2 separate regions of the Homo sapiens genome follow, and region 2 is linked to region 1. The links are contacts of gene promoters, found by promoter capture Hi-C in human tissues and cell types (Jung and others, 2019). All regions are on one chromosome and are shown on one strand. The core of a region is centred on a gene start or on the middle of the fragment in contact, and the rest is flanking DNA. Distances in the headings are between cores, read along the strand shown. Region 1 holds the start of APLNR (apelin receptor). Region 2 overlaps LOC105369309 (a long non-coding RNA gene).

Region 1 (6,308 bases), core at 1-2,500:
GGAGGTGCCTGCGCACCTGCTCTGGCCACAGCAGAGCATGGAGGTGCAGGCCTGGCGGAAGCGGGGGTCGAAAAAGGCATAGAGGAAGGGGTTGAGGCAGCTGTTGACGTAGCTGATGCAGGTGCAGTAGGGGAAGATGTTCATGAGGAAGAGGTCAAAGTCACAGGGCCAGTGCAGCAGGCTGCCCAGCATGTACAGCGTCTTCACCAGGTGGTAGGGCATCCAGCACAGGGCAAAGGTCACCACCAGCACCACGATGATGCTGAGCAGCCGGCGCCGCTTCCGCAGGCCCTCGATGCGTTCCTTGCGGAAGTGGCCAGCGATGGTTTGGGCGATGAAGAAGTAACAGGTCAGCATGATGGTGAAGGGCACCACAAAGCCCACGGTGGTGGACGAGACCCCAAGGCCCACCTCCCAGGCCCACTCTGAGCTCACAGTGGCCACCATGGAGTAGTCCATGTAGCACTGCACCTTAGTGGTGTTCTCCAAGTCCCCGGTGGTGCGTAACACCATGACAGGCATGGCCAGGAGGGCGGCCAGCACCCAAAGAACTGCCGTGGCCACGGCCCCGCTGACCCGCAGCCTCAGCCGAGCATTGGCCACTGGCCTCACGATGGCCAGGTAGCGGTCGAAGCTGAGGCCGGTGAGGCAGAAGACGCTGGCGTACATGTTGACGAAGATGAGGTAGCTGCTGAGCTTGCAGAAGAAGGTCCCAAAGGGCCAGTCATAGTCCCGGTACGTGTAGGTAGCCCACAGGGGCAGCGTCACCACGAAGGTCAGGTCAGCCACCGCCAGGCTAGCAATGAAGATATCAGCTGAGCGCCTCTTCTCCCGGCTGCTCCGAAACACGGTCCAGAGCACCAGACCGTTGCCCGTGGTGCCCAGGAGGAAGACCAACATGTAGATGGCAGGGATGAGGGCCCCCGAGGATTTCCAGTCTGTGTACTCACACTCAGACTGGTTGTCTGCCCCATAGTAGTTGTCAAAATCACCACCTTCCTCCATGCTGGGGAGTGGAGAGAAGACGGGCAGAGGGTCCCAGGGACACCAGCTCCGTGGCTCTGTCACCCACTCTGCAAGCAGCCTGAATTTCTGGCTTGAGCCTCAGAGAGTAAGAAGGGCTGAAGATGCCCAGAGTCCTTCCCAGCACTCAGGAGGAGCTGCCTCTGGGTTCTCCAGACCCTGGAGGAAGCCTGTCTCCTGCAGAATTTCCTCCACCCTCTCTTGCCTTACCCCCGTCTCAGTTAAGACACTTCCTTGCACCCTCCTGCGTCCCTGTCTCCTCCTTGACTCGTCACTCCCTCCTCCCACCTCCAGACCAGCCCCTCTCTTGTGAGTCAAAATCTTTAGTGACAGCCCACTTTTTTTTTCTTTTTGTCACTGAGCAAGTGGACCAAATTGACCCCTACTGTGCTGGGCTGAACATTATCTGTGGTTTTGCAAGTCGGCTTTCCTGGCCCCGCCTCTCCTTTCTGGCTGCCACCCACCTTCACCCCAGCCCCTATCCCTCCACTTTCCTCTGGCCACCACTTCCTGCCTGCCCTTTAGGGCACTCCCTCCTCAGTGCTCTCCGCCCTCCTGTTCTCACCCCCTTCCATCCAATCTAAATGGGACACATTATGCAGATTGCAATCCAGCTTGAGCTGGAGCCAGGGCTGGTAGGGAGCAAGGAGGGTGTAAGATTTCGCAGGATGGGCAGGGCATCTGGCAGGTCCTCCTGGCAGGCAGGTCTGGCCCCCTCGGCTCCCTTCCTGCACCCCCAGCCCCCACCCAGACCAGGTGTCACAGGAGGGTCTTCTCCCACTTTGCCTCTCGCTTCATCTTTCTCTACCCCTTGGCTTTGACCCTCCCTCTGAGAACTTTTGTGGTTTCTAGAGAAATACCCCTACACTAGTGTAGACTGCAGTTTGCAGTTTGCGGAAGGCACAGGATGCTTTAGAAGGTTGAGGGCAGTCACAGGATGGAAGAAACCCAGGACAAAATTATCTCTAAACAAGTCATTAAATCTGTAGGAAACAAAGGCCCAACAAGGTCAATGTTTTGCCCAAGGTAATAAAGTGAATTATGCTACAGTTGATTGTTTGCTTTTCTTCTTCTCCAAACACGAACATAATACAGTACCTGGCATGTCGTAGGTGAATGGCTGTTTTGTTTGTTTGTTTGTTTGTTGAGACAGAGTTTCACTCTTGTTGCCCAGGCTGGTCTAGGCTCACTGCAACTTCTGCCTCCTGGGTTCAAGCGATTCTCCCGCCTCAGCCTCCCTAGTAGCTGGGATTGCAGGCTAATTTTTTTGTATTTTTAGTAGAGATGGGGATTGACCAGGCTAGTCTCAAACTCCTGACCTCAGATGATCCACCCACCTCGGCCTCCCAAAGTGCTGAAATTACAGGCATGAGCCACCACGCCCAGCCAGGTGAATGGCTGTTGAGTGAGTAAGTGGATGGATGATGTAGGAGGTGAGTGAAAAGGGGAATCCATAGATGGAAGAACAAGTGTAAGAATTACTACGTGGTGAGAACATGGATACATTTCAGTTCTCAGGTTTTTACTATCCTCCATGGACCAAGAGGTTTCTGTAAGACCACAGGGGGTCAGGAAGTTGAGCTAGAGGAGGGGGGTCTCTAGAGAAAGACTCAGTCACTGGAGGATACTGTGGGGAAAGTTCCGTAGACGCTCACTTTGCCCCAGCTCATCACCTCTCCAGGACCTCTAGGAAGGAAGGAAGATGCACGACGTAAGATTTTTTTTAAAAAATACGCACCCTTTCCACAACCTTGAAGAGTTGGGGAAGCCACCTGACGTTGGGTAATAGTGAGATGGAACAAAAGCAGGAGCTGAGCCTTAGCCACTTCCAAGGCAAAAGACTTACAAAAGCTGGAATTGGCCAGGCAAGGTGGCTCATGCCTATAATCCCAGCACTTTGGGAGGCCAAGGCAGGAAGACTGCTTGAGCCCAGGAGTTCAAGACTAGCCTGAATAACACAGCCAAGACCCTGTCTCACGATATATATTTGTCTTAAGTTACTACAAAAGCTGGAATCCATTTTCTGGAGGGAGAGTGGATCAGAAAATCATATGCAGAGATCAAGGAACTCAAACTCAAATACCTGCAAAAAAAAAAAAAAAAAACAGGCCAAGAGTGTAGTTTGAGACAACAGAGAATGGTAAAGACTGTGGCAAACTGGAGGGTGCCCATTCCATCATAGGGAGGCCTCTTCAGCTCTAGTCTCTGGTTGCCACGCAGAAAGCTGGACCCCAGCATGACTGTGTCTTAGGATTTTTCCAAGATAATTTCAAATTATGGATTTTTGTAAGAAATTTTCATATTTGTAAATTTTGGAAATCAATTTTCATTTCAAAAAAAAGCACAGACCATGATAAGTAAAACATGTCTTTGGCCCCCGAGTTTGTGTTCTTTAAACAGGAGCTTGCCAAGAATAGAAGGCAGGAGAAGAACCAAGAGGATGGGGCAGGAGGAGGAAACAAAAAATGCAAAGATAGAAAAAGCCTTAGAGTGCAGTGGGGAGATACAGGAGAGAAGGCTGCAGAGAGAGATTAGAAAGATCCTGTGACCTTCACCTAAATGCAATGTGGAGTAATGAATATGTTGGTGTTTCTCATGAGGACTACATGTTGCCCACTTATTGTGTGCCAGGCAGTCTTCTAAACATTTTATACATTCTACATATATTTATTAGTATCTCTTTTAATCATCAAAATGACATTAGGAGGCAGGTGCTCTCATTAGCCTCAATTTACAGATGAGGAAACTGAGGCACACAGAGGTGAAGCAGTTTAGCCAAGATCACCCAGCAGTAATTGTCAGAGCCAGAATTTGAACCAAAGCTGTCTCGAGCCCATGGACTAAACCACTATGCTCCCAAAGAAAAACGCCCAATCCTTTTTAAACTGAGGGGTGTGTCATCTGTTAAGCATTAGAGAAATGTAGGGCGATGCCAGGATACCTGTAATTTACCTTAAAATAAGCTCTACCGGGTGAGATTTTAAATAGATTGACTATTTAGAGACACACCTCACATTGATTAGACAGGGTATAAGAATCCTGCCAGGCAATAATCTGTACACTTAGGGTTAGCACCATAGACTTGATCCAGAAACCACCCTCGCTCTAGCCATTGCCAAAGAGAATTCCTGGTTGCCTGGTGCCAGCTAGAAAGCTAACAGGACTCTGCCCCTGGAATCTTGGCATTCTGTACAGTGGGGGCTGGGACACCCAATAGGATCCAGAGCTGGGGCTCCATCCATCTCACAGTACACAGGGTAGGAATTGCTTGGGGCCTCTTGCTCCTGCATTTTTGGCTAATAGAAGTTCTGCGCAGATGGCAGAATGGTTTTCATTATATCCTGACATTCATTCATCATATCATGATTCATTCATCATATCCTGATATAATAGTTTCATTATATCCTGACATTATATCCTGGGTGGAAATAGCTAACCTTTGGCTACCTCAGACTTCTTCAGTGGTAAGCTATCTTTACCTATCAAAGGGGACCTTGGAGTTGTGCAGGGACCAGCTTGGCTCAGGTCAGGTCATAATAGATGGCCCTTTTACGAGTAAACATTACTGCTTGGGACATTCCAGGATAAAGACCAAGTTTGAGACGCCTAGTGATCCCAGTTCTCCCATGATTCTCCCAGAAAGATGCAGATGTCTGTGCCCTTTGCAGCTAGAAATACAGAGAGAAGGGAGCTAGCAAGCTTGAAGCGTCCCTGAAATCAGGTCCCTGTCTCCCTCCCCTCAGCTGTTCCCACTGGAATGCTGAGCCAGACAGGAGCCTGGAGACCCCTGTGGGAAAGGATATGGATCCATCGCTTTCATCTGCCGACCTCCAGGATGTCTGCCCTAGAGGGAGTAAAGAGCAGTTAATCTCACTAGAGTTACCAGACTCATTGAGAGGGGAGGGAATTGGGGGCCAGGGCTGGGAAGAGGCCACCGTTTGGGACCAGAGAGGGTAGAGTGCTGATAAGATCCGGCCTCCAACCAGGAGCCAGCTGTAGCCAGATGGCCTGAGTGCCCCCTGCAATGACAGCCTGAAGTGAGCAGAATTAGCCAGCTCACTCCTTATCCTGCCTGATCTGATCTGTCCCTGTTCCGCATTGCACCATTCCACACAGAAGAAAGACTGGAAAATAGGACCAGTAGCTGAAGATGAAACTTGTGTGTCCCGGGGCTCAGAAGTATATGGGTCCTGGGCCTCACAGACTAGACATATACAAGGCCTGGGACAGATATCTTCTTTTCATTTCTGCCCCCCACCCTACTTGGCACCTGGTAAAAGTCTGTTGAATTAAAGCAATAGAAACACACTCAGGAGAAGGGTGTAAGACTTGGATCTTCACCCCAGAGCTGCTCTACTGCATTAACAAGGCAACTTTTGCTAAAGTGATCCAGGAAATTCTACTCTGAGCTATCTGGCAAACCAATAGCTAAGGCAAGCCTGTTGGCCAGGGTGCCCAGAGCTGGCCTGCCCTGGAGAGGCCTGCACAGGTTTCCTGGGGAACTTCCCTCTCTCTCCTGGGTGATTTCTTCAGGGCATTGTGATGAGACCGAGATGAATGACACCTGGCAGAAAAGCACTCCAGACCTGCTAGTGCCCTTTGAGGAGAGCCCAGACTTCTGGGAGACCTCTGGAGTCAGTGGTTCAATATTCCTCACCCACCCCACCACCAGGTTTGTGCCTGGCCTAAAAAGCAGAGCCTGACTTGGCCTGTGCCCATGGACATGCTGACTATGTGTGCTTTGTGAATGCAAGTTTTCTGTGTGCCACGAGGTCACTTGGATGTGAAGTCTGTAGGTGCTTGTGAGCAGGCTGAACTTGTGTGTGCAGGGGGATATGAGTGTGCACTGGGTGCATGCATTCATGGATGTAGAATAGTGTGCTTGCTTGTGCATAGTGAGGTAGGATGTGCATTGGGTGCATGCATTCATGCATGTAGAACAGTGTGCTTGCTTGTGCATAGTGGGCTATGATGTGCATTGGGTTCATGCATTAACGTGTATAGAAGAGTATGCATGTTTGTGTGTTGTAGGCATGAGCGTGCACTGAATGCACACATTCACCCAAGGAATGTACATCAGGTGCGTAGAAGAGTGTGCTTGCTTGTGTGTAGTGGGATCAGAGATCTGAATAAACACACTGCTTGCAGTACAGGGACGGGTGCTTAATTGGATCTCTCTAAGAGTTTGGGATGAAGGGGGAAAGCTGAACCCCTCTGCTGGGACCTCACCCAGACCCTACCCAAAGCTGTGGGCTGGGGACATCAAAGTGGAAGTACTGCCTTTC
Region 2 (6,560 bases), core at 228-2,727, 35 kb before region 1:
AGTACTCTGCCCCAAGTCAATTCCATTCAATTAGACATTCATTACTACTGATGTGTGTGCCAGCATGCTAGATGCCCCGGATGATGCCAGGATGTGACACTGCCAGGGCCCTCCAGTTGCCCATGGTCTAATGGGGAGGAGTTCCACAGTCACAAGAAGACGTGTTACAATGAAGAATGCAATCAAGGACACGAGAAAGAGATCTGCAAGTACAATATGAATTTAGAGAAGTGAGAGACCAAACTTTACAGAGAAGGGGACATCTGAAATTTAAAGATGGGTATAAGCTCTTCAGTAAAGATGGAAATGAGCCATTCCAGGTGGAGGGAAAGCAGGAGAGACAGCACAGAGGGGAAGGAAGAGTGGATGCTCACGACAGAATCCAGTGTGACTGGAACAAAGGGTATTTTGAAAGAATAGCCTGCAATGGAGGGTCTGGGAGGTGCAGGGGAGATTTTCATCTTTAGGGTCTTAGTCCTCCCTTTCTCATCTTTAGAGTCTGATAATTGGCCCTCCCTTCAACATGCATATGCTTCCCTGACCCATCTTTAGGATCATACTTGCAAAAACAGTTCAAGATTAACCACAGCAATTCATTTATTCCACAATCTTTTACCAAAACCCTAAGACACGTGAGGCACTGTGCAAGCATAGGAAATACAGCCAGGGATGAGATAGGTAAGTTCCAGAGCACTGGACAAACAATCAGTAAAGTGAGACGGTAGAAAGAACATAGGAACAGGAAAGTCCTGGGTGCAAATATACGTCGTGTGTCATGAACAAAATATTTCATATCTCTGAGCCCTGGTTTCTACCTCCCTGATGGGGATAATTATACTTATTCCACGGGGTTATTGTAGAAATTAACCTGTGGGGAAAGAGCTTCATACTGTGTTGGGCACACTGTAAGCATTCGTTACCCATGTATTCTTTGTTCAGCCATAAAGAGAGGCGCCTGGAATACCAAATCTCCAGGGTCCCTTTCAGCTCTGATATTTTGCTTGGGCAGTTCTAAGACTCTGCGGCACCTGTAACTGTGCCCACTGACCAGGGTCCTGGCACATCCCAAGGAGTGACGCTCCATCCCTCCCTGAGCAAGAAGCTTCTACCAGGGTGGCCTGAGATGAGGCCAATGGATCAGGCAGGCATTAATCAGGTGGCCGCCCTCCTTGGCTGTGGCGCCGGCAGGCCAGGCAGCGTTCTGGCTGCCTAGCTTCCCCGATCGGCTTCCACACCACTCCACAGACCCGTTGCCATGACAGTGAACCCCAAGGGGCACCCAGGAGTGGCCAGAGCTGGAGAGGAAGGGTTCCATTGATCGAAATCCATCTGACTCAGCCTTGGTTGATTTCAGGATCCTGGAGTGAGAACAAACAACAATTTAAATCTACTGAATGCTTTTTTCAATGCCAGACAACATATTAAGTGTGTTTTTCCGATTCTCTCATTTCATACTCACAATGGTAACGTGAAATAGGGATCCTCATTCCCACTTAACAGAATGAGAAACTGGGGATCAGAGAAGAAAATACCGATGTCACCCACATAGTAAGTGGTAAGGCCAGGACACAACTGTGCCCCCCAGCTCCAGCCCCAGGGATGTATCATTCCAAAGACCCTGTGCTTTTCCACAAACCACAGTCTTCCGAGCCACCTGAGCCTCCAGGAAAGTTGATGCCACTTTCCCCACTTGCCTGAATGTTCCTGAGGGGCCAAGGGGGACAGGTGCAGAGAGCTAGGTCTCTGAGTGATTCCTCAGAGACAAGGCCAGGTCACCCAGATGATGGGCTACTCAGACAGCTGCCAAAAATATGTTCTGGGATTTTCCAATGTAATCCCAATTTCAAATATTCTGCTTGTTTTTCTAAAGAATGAAAATTCCAACATACTGCCACCAAACTAATACGTCTCTCAAATGAGCTGTTGTTCATCTGGAAACAGCACAATATTTGACAACATCTGTCAGACCCCGTCACAACATTTGGTTCTAAAGAGCACGGTCCCTGTATTTTGATGCAAGGTAGCAATGTGCAAGCTCTGGCCTTAGATTTAGGGCTCTGACCTGCCAGAAGGAGGATATCCAGAAACCAGAGGACATCAACCCTTTTTCTAACCTCAGCAGCTGGGGAATTTGCCGAAAGAACAGCTTGGCATTCCTTCCCTGCCTTTCACCCCCCTTCCCATGGCTACTGAACTATTGAGCCCAAACTCTGGGAACCCATGACATGGGAAAATCCAGCTGGCTTCTGTAGCCCCAGACATCTGGATTCCCTAACCCCAGGCAGCCAGCTGAGTGAGGAGGCAGCAACACAAGGATGCTTGGGAAAGCCTTCGGAGGGACGTCTGCCAAGTCATCTCCCTCCTGAACAAACACATGTCCCACTATCTAGGGGTCAGCAGAGCCATGTTTATATGTGCTTAGGCCATTCAACTGATTAATTAATTAGCTCCCTGGGTGGCCTTTGGCCACTAAAGCTTCATCCCTTGAGGCCTCAGTTTTCTTATCTATAAAATGTTAGAATTAGGCAAGTTGATGTCTAAGGTTACTTCCTGCCCTACGATTTCAGCTTTCTACCATAAAAGAACAGGATGAGCATGGACAGGATTTGGCTCTAATACTGTCCCTGCTCTGCCAGCATGGGAAAGTCCCTTCCCATTTCTAAGCCTCAGTTTCCTTGGGGAGTTAAATGAGGGGCGGACTAGATGATCTCTCAGTCCAGAGCTCTGTTATCTCAGAAACTGGAACACATCTTGACATGCCCTCTCCCTGATCACCTGCATGCACTGTAACCCAGCAGACCCCATCTCGACAGCTCCATTGCCACCTACTCAATCAGGCTGCCTGCTCTCACCTGGACCACTGCAATAGCCTCCTAACTGGTCAAGCAACATCTGCCGCCCCTCCCTCATCTCTATGCTGGAGACTACCAGTGTGAAGTTTCTTTTCAAAACACAAATCAGCTAGGCACAATGGCTCACGCCTGTAATCAATCCCAGAACTTTGAGAGGCTGAAGCAGGAGGATTACTTGAGCGTAGGAGTTTGAGACCACCCGGGACAACATAGCAAGATCCCAGCTCTACCAAAAAAAAAAAATTTAAATTATCCAGGCATGGGGGCGTTTGTGTGTAGTCCCAGCTACTCAAGAGGCTGAGGCAGGAAGATGACTTGAGCCCAGGAGGTCAGGGCTGCAGTGAGCCATGCTCATGCCACTGCACTCCAGCCTGAGCAACAGAGTGAGACCCTGTCTCAAAAAAAAAAAAAAAATATATATATATATATATATAAGATCATGTTAGCCTGCTGCTTGTATGGAGTTCCATTGCAATTAGGGTAAACAATAGTGCAGCTTGTGAGACCCTCACGGCTAACCCAGCCCACCCCTCAGCACCATGTCTCACCACCCTCCCTTCCTCAATGTACACAAGTCCCTTGGCCTTTCGCTTCCTTAATAGACAAGCCTCCCAAGCCTCAATCTTTGTTCATGCAATTTCTTTGCCTAGAATGCTGATCTGCTTCCTCTCTATCCCACTCCCTTCTTCAACTTGTCCATTTCTTCCCTTCCTTTAGATTTCACCTCAGGCATCTCTGCTTAGAAATCCTCCTGGGAACTCACCAGGCTAGCTCAGATTCCCTGGGTAGACTTTCCCATAAGACCATTGCCTTCCCTACAGAGCATTCCTGTCCATTTCTGAGTGCGTTCAGGGATGACATTGCTTTCTCTCATTCCTACTCATCCCATAGTCTACACTCAATAAACCTTTTCAAGATGAGGGACTGGATGTTCTGCCCTTAGGAAGCTCCTAAGAAGAGGATGGCACCTTTTCCAAAAGCCCTGGCAGAGACCAAGACTAAAACAGATCTGATCTAAGACTGTCAGGCTCCCGAGGAGACATCCTGCTGACTGCTGGAAAGCTCTGCCCAAGGCAAGCTTGAGACTTAGCCAATTGCTATGGCTATGCTCAGAGTTCATTCCAGCAGAGGGTGCTCAGAAGTCCACCCTAGAGCGCTCTGAGCTGGCTGCCCTCCCAGCCAGCAGGCAGCCCGGGGCAATGGCTCCAGAGCATCAGATTAGGAGGAGAGCTGAAGTCTGTACTGTGGAAAGACAAGATGACTAGATAGATTCTTCTTTGGAAATGTCTTAAAGTGCCTTTTCCCCCACCTTCTCCACCCACTGACTTGCACAGATCATTCAAGTGTAAATGGGCCTCCTCCTTCAGGAAGCCTTCCTGTATCACCCCTGCTGGACTAAGGTTCCTAAATCTGCATTTCTATGCCTCCTGGGCATCCCACTAGCATTGTATACTACTACACTGAGAGAATGTGTTTCCACACCTGTCTCCTCAGCCAGAATAGCCTTCTTCATCTCCTATCACCAGCATCCAGTGCCTAGAACACAACTATCACTTGGGAAGACTCTATCATTTTATAGATGAGGAAACCAAGATCCAGGAGAAAGAATGATTTGTCCCCCAGGGTCACACAAGTCACTCACTGGCAGGGCCAGGAATCTAACCCACGTCTACCACTTCAAGCTGACACCTTTCCCTGTTGCATCCCTGCCTTCAGGAAGGGATGGGAATGAATTTGCGATAGGATTCATTTATGATCCTGTGGACAAGAGCCTCCAATGACTCTCCGGGGATGCCTAATCACCCCTTTATAAGAAAGGCTCCAAGAGCAAGATGCCGGACTCTCCCATGGGGAGAGCACCTGTAGCCTGTTGTGTTGCCTGCCCACCAGCTGGAGAGGCTGACCCTACTCAGTACTGAGATTAATGAAGAATCCAACCTCAGTTCCAGCAGGAGGTGAGCACACGATGGCAATCCCTCCCTTCTCTGCACGCAGAAAGTTCATCTTCCAGGAAATGGAGAGTTATGGTTCCTTCCCACCCCCTACCCCCAGTTGATGCTTTCTGAGAGTCAACCAGCATTTATTAAATGTGCCGTCTCATTCGGTCATTCAACCCCAGACCATAAGTTTCTTGAAGTCAGGAAAGTATCTTAAGTTTGGATCACAGAATATATTGTTCTAAAGGGCCTTTAGGATTCACCAGGTTCCAGCTTCTCTGTTTACACCTAGGAAATGGGGTCCAGAGGGTGAAAGAGACTTGCCATGTGAATGACTGCAGAGCCAAGGTCTGGGTCCTGCTCCCTGGTGTCCCACACTGATCTCTCTGCTCCATGTCTCTGGACTCTGGCCCTGACAAGAAGCCTCCTTGGATCCTTCCAGGCCTGAGAGCAGAGCAGGTCCCTGTGAAGGTGTGTCTGTCCGTTGATGGGAGAGAGCATGTCAAGATTCAAACTGCAAATCTGATCGCCTCACTTCTCTGTTGAAGGACTGCAGTGGCTTCACCCCACCCTCATATGAAGTTCATCCTTCAGGATGGGTCCTCCGAGACCCTGACCCCGATGTCGTCTCCAGACACGGCCCTGTCACTCTGAGCCACAGTCCCTCACTTGGCACTTCCCAGCTCCTCCCTTACCTTACCAGCTCACTCAGGGCTGTTTCCCACCTCTTCACTTGGCCAACTCCTGCTCTTCCTTCAGCTGAATGCCCAGCCTCCTCCTCTATGAAGCCTTCCCTCATGTTATCCCACCCCACACACAACCTCCAAAGCACCCTGGACTTTTGGATTTCCATTCAGCTCACTGTGCTTGCTTATCCTCTCTCTCTCTCCTCCACCCAACCACAGACTCCCCTGGCCTGGGACAGTCTCTCTCTCCCCATCATCAATGTACTTGCACAGTCAGGCTCTGTCATCAGCACTCAGAGGATGTTCGACAAATATTGTAGGGGTGTTTGATTGACAAGTGGAGACCACTCCCCTTTATGTGTCCTGCTCCTTGACTCAGTGGAACCACAGAGGCCACTGAGAATGGACCCAGAAGATAGTTCCTGCTAAGGCAGGGGCAGTGATAGAACAGGAGCAGCTCATGGAGAAGCCTCTAACCATCTGCCCCACAGGAGTGTCTGTCCAAGACAGCTGATGTTCCAGTCTCCATATCAGTCCAGGATGCATGTGGAGGGGGAAGTCTTCATCTCCCTCTGATCCCCGGCTGCTACTTCCTGAACCTTCTTAGGGCTAAGGGGCTGGCAGGCAGGCGGGCGGTGGGGCTGCCACACGCTCCCACTCCTAGCACATATCCTGTCGCTACCTCTTCTGGCAGGATGTTATTGCAGAGCCCAGGGCTGTTATTGTCAGGAGAATGGCTTTCCTGAGCTCATTAAAGGACCTCTGTCCTTTCTCCAGGACCGACCCCCCTTTTCCTCTGTCCCCAATCAACACTGAGAGAAAGGGGCCCTGGGACAACTCCAGGTGGAGCATCACAGCTCCCCTTCCTCCTGCTACTTCTCTACTTGGCTGGCTGATGACTATGATCACAGATGGTCATCATTCCTATTTGAATGCCTTTGTGTGCCTAGGCATTAATGGCCATTGACTAATTCAGCCCTCACAGCACTCATGTAAGATAAATGTTATTATTAATCTCATTTATACAGTAGAGCAAGCTGGGGCTCAGAGAGGTTAAATGATGTGCTCTAACTCACACAGCAAGA

The links. The method cuts DNA at HindIII sites, captures the fragments that hold promoters and counts their contacts. A contact is called where the count stands out against the background at its distance.
Region 2: a contact is called between a fragment that was not itself captured here and the fragment with the promoter of APLNR in region 1, in 2 of the 25 tissues and cell types used here (H1 embryonic stem cells and hippocampus).

Annotation. Positions count from the first base shown.
Region 1 is chr11:57,236,000-57,242,307 of GRCh38, forward strand. It overlaps APLNR (apelin receptor), which reads right to left and starts at 1,251. Exons shown (of 1, transcript NM_005161.6): 1 at 1-1,251. The coding sequence starts at 1,005. RefSeq lists enhancers at 893-1,525, 4,567-5,333. The HindIII fragment of the contact is 13,017 bases long and covers 1-6,308 here.
Region 2 is chr11:57,201,260-57,207,819 of GRCh38, forward strand. All of the region lies in intron 2 of LOC105369309 (a long non-coding RNA gene), which reads right to left. Among named protein-coding and RNA genes, the nearest start is that of LRRC55, 23 kb to the left of the region's middle. RefSeq lists a silencer at 3,856-4,150. The HindIII fragment of the contact is 3,449 bases long and covers 1-3,202 here.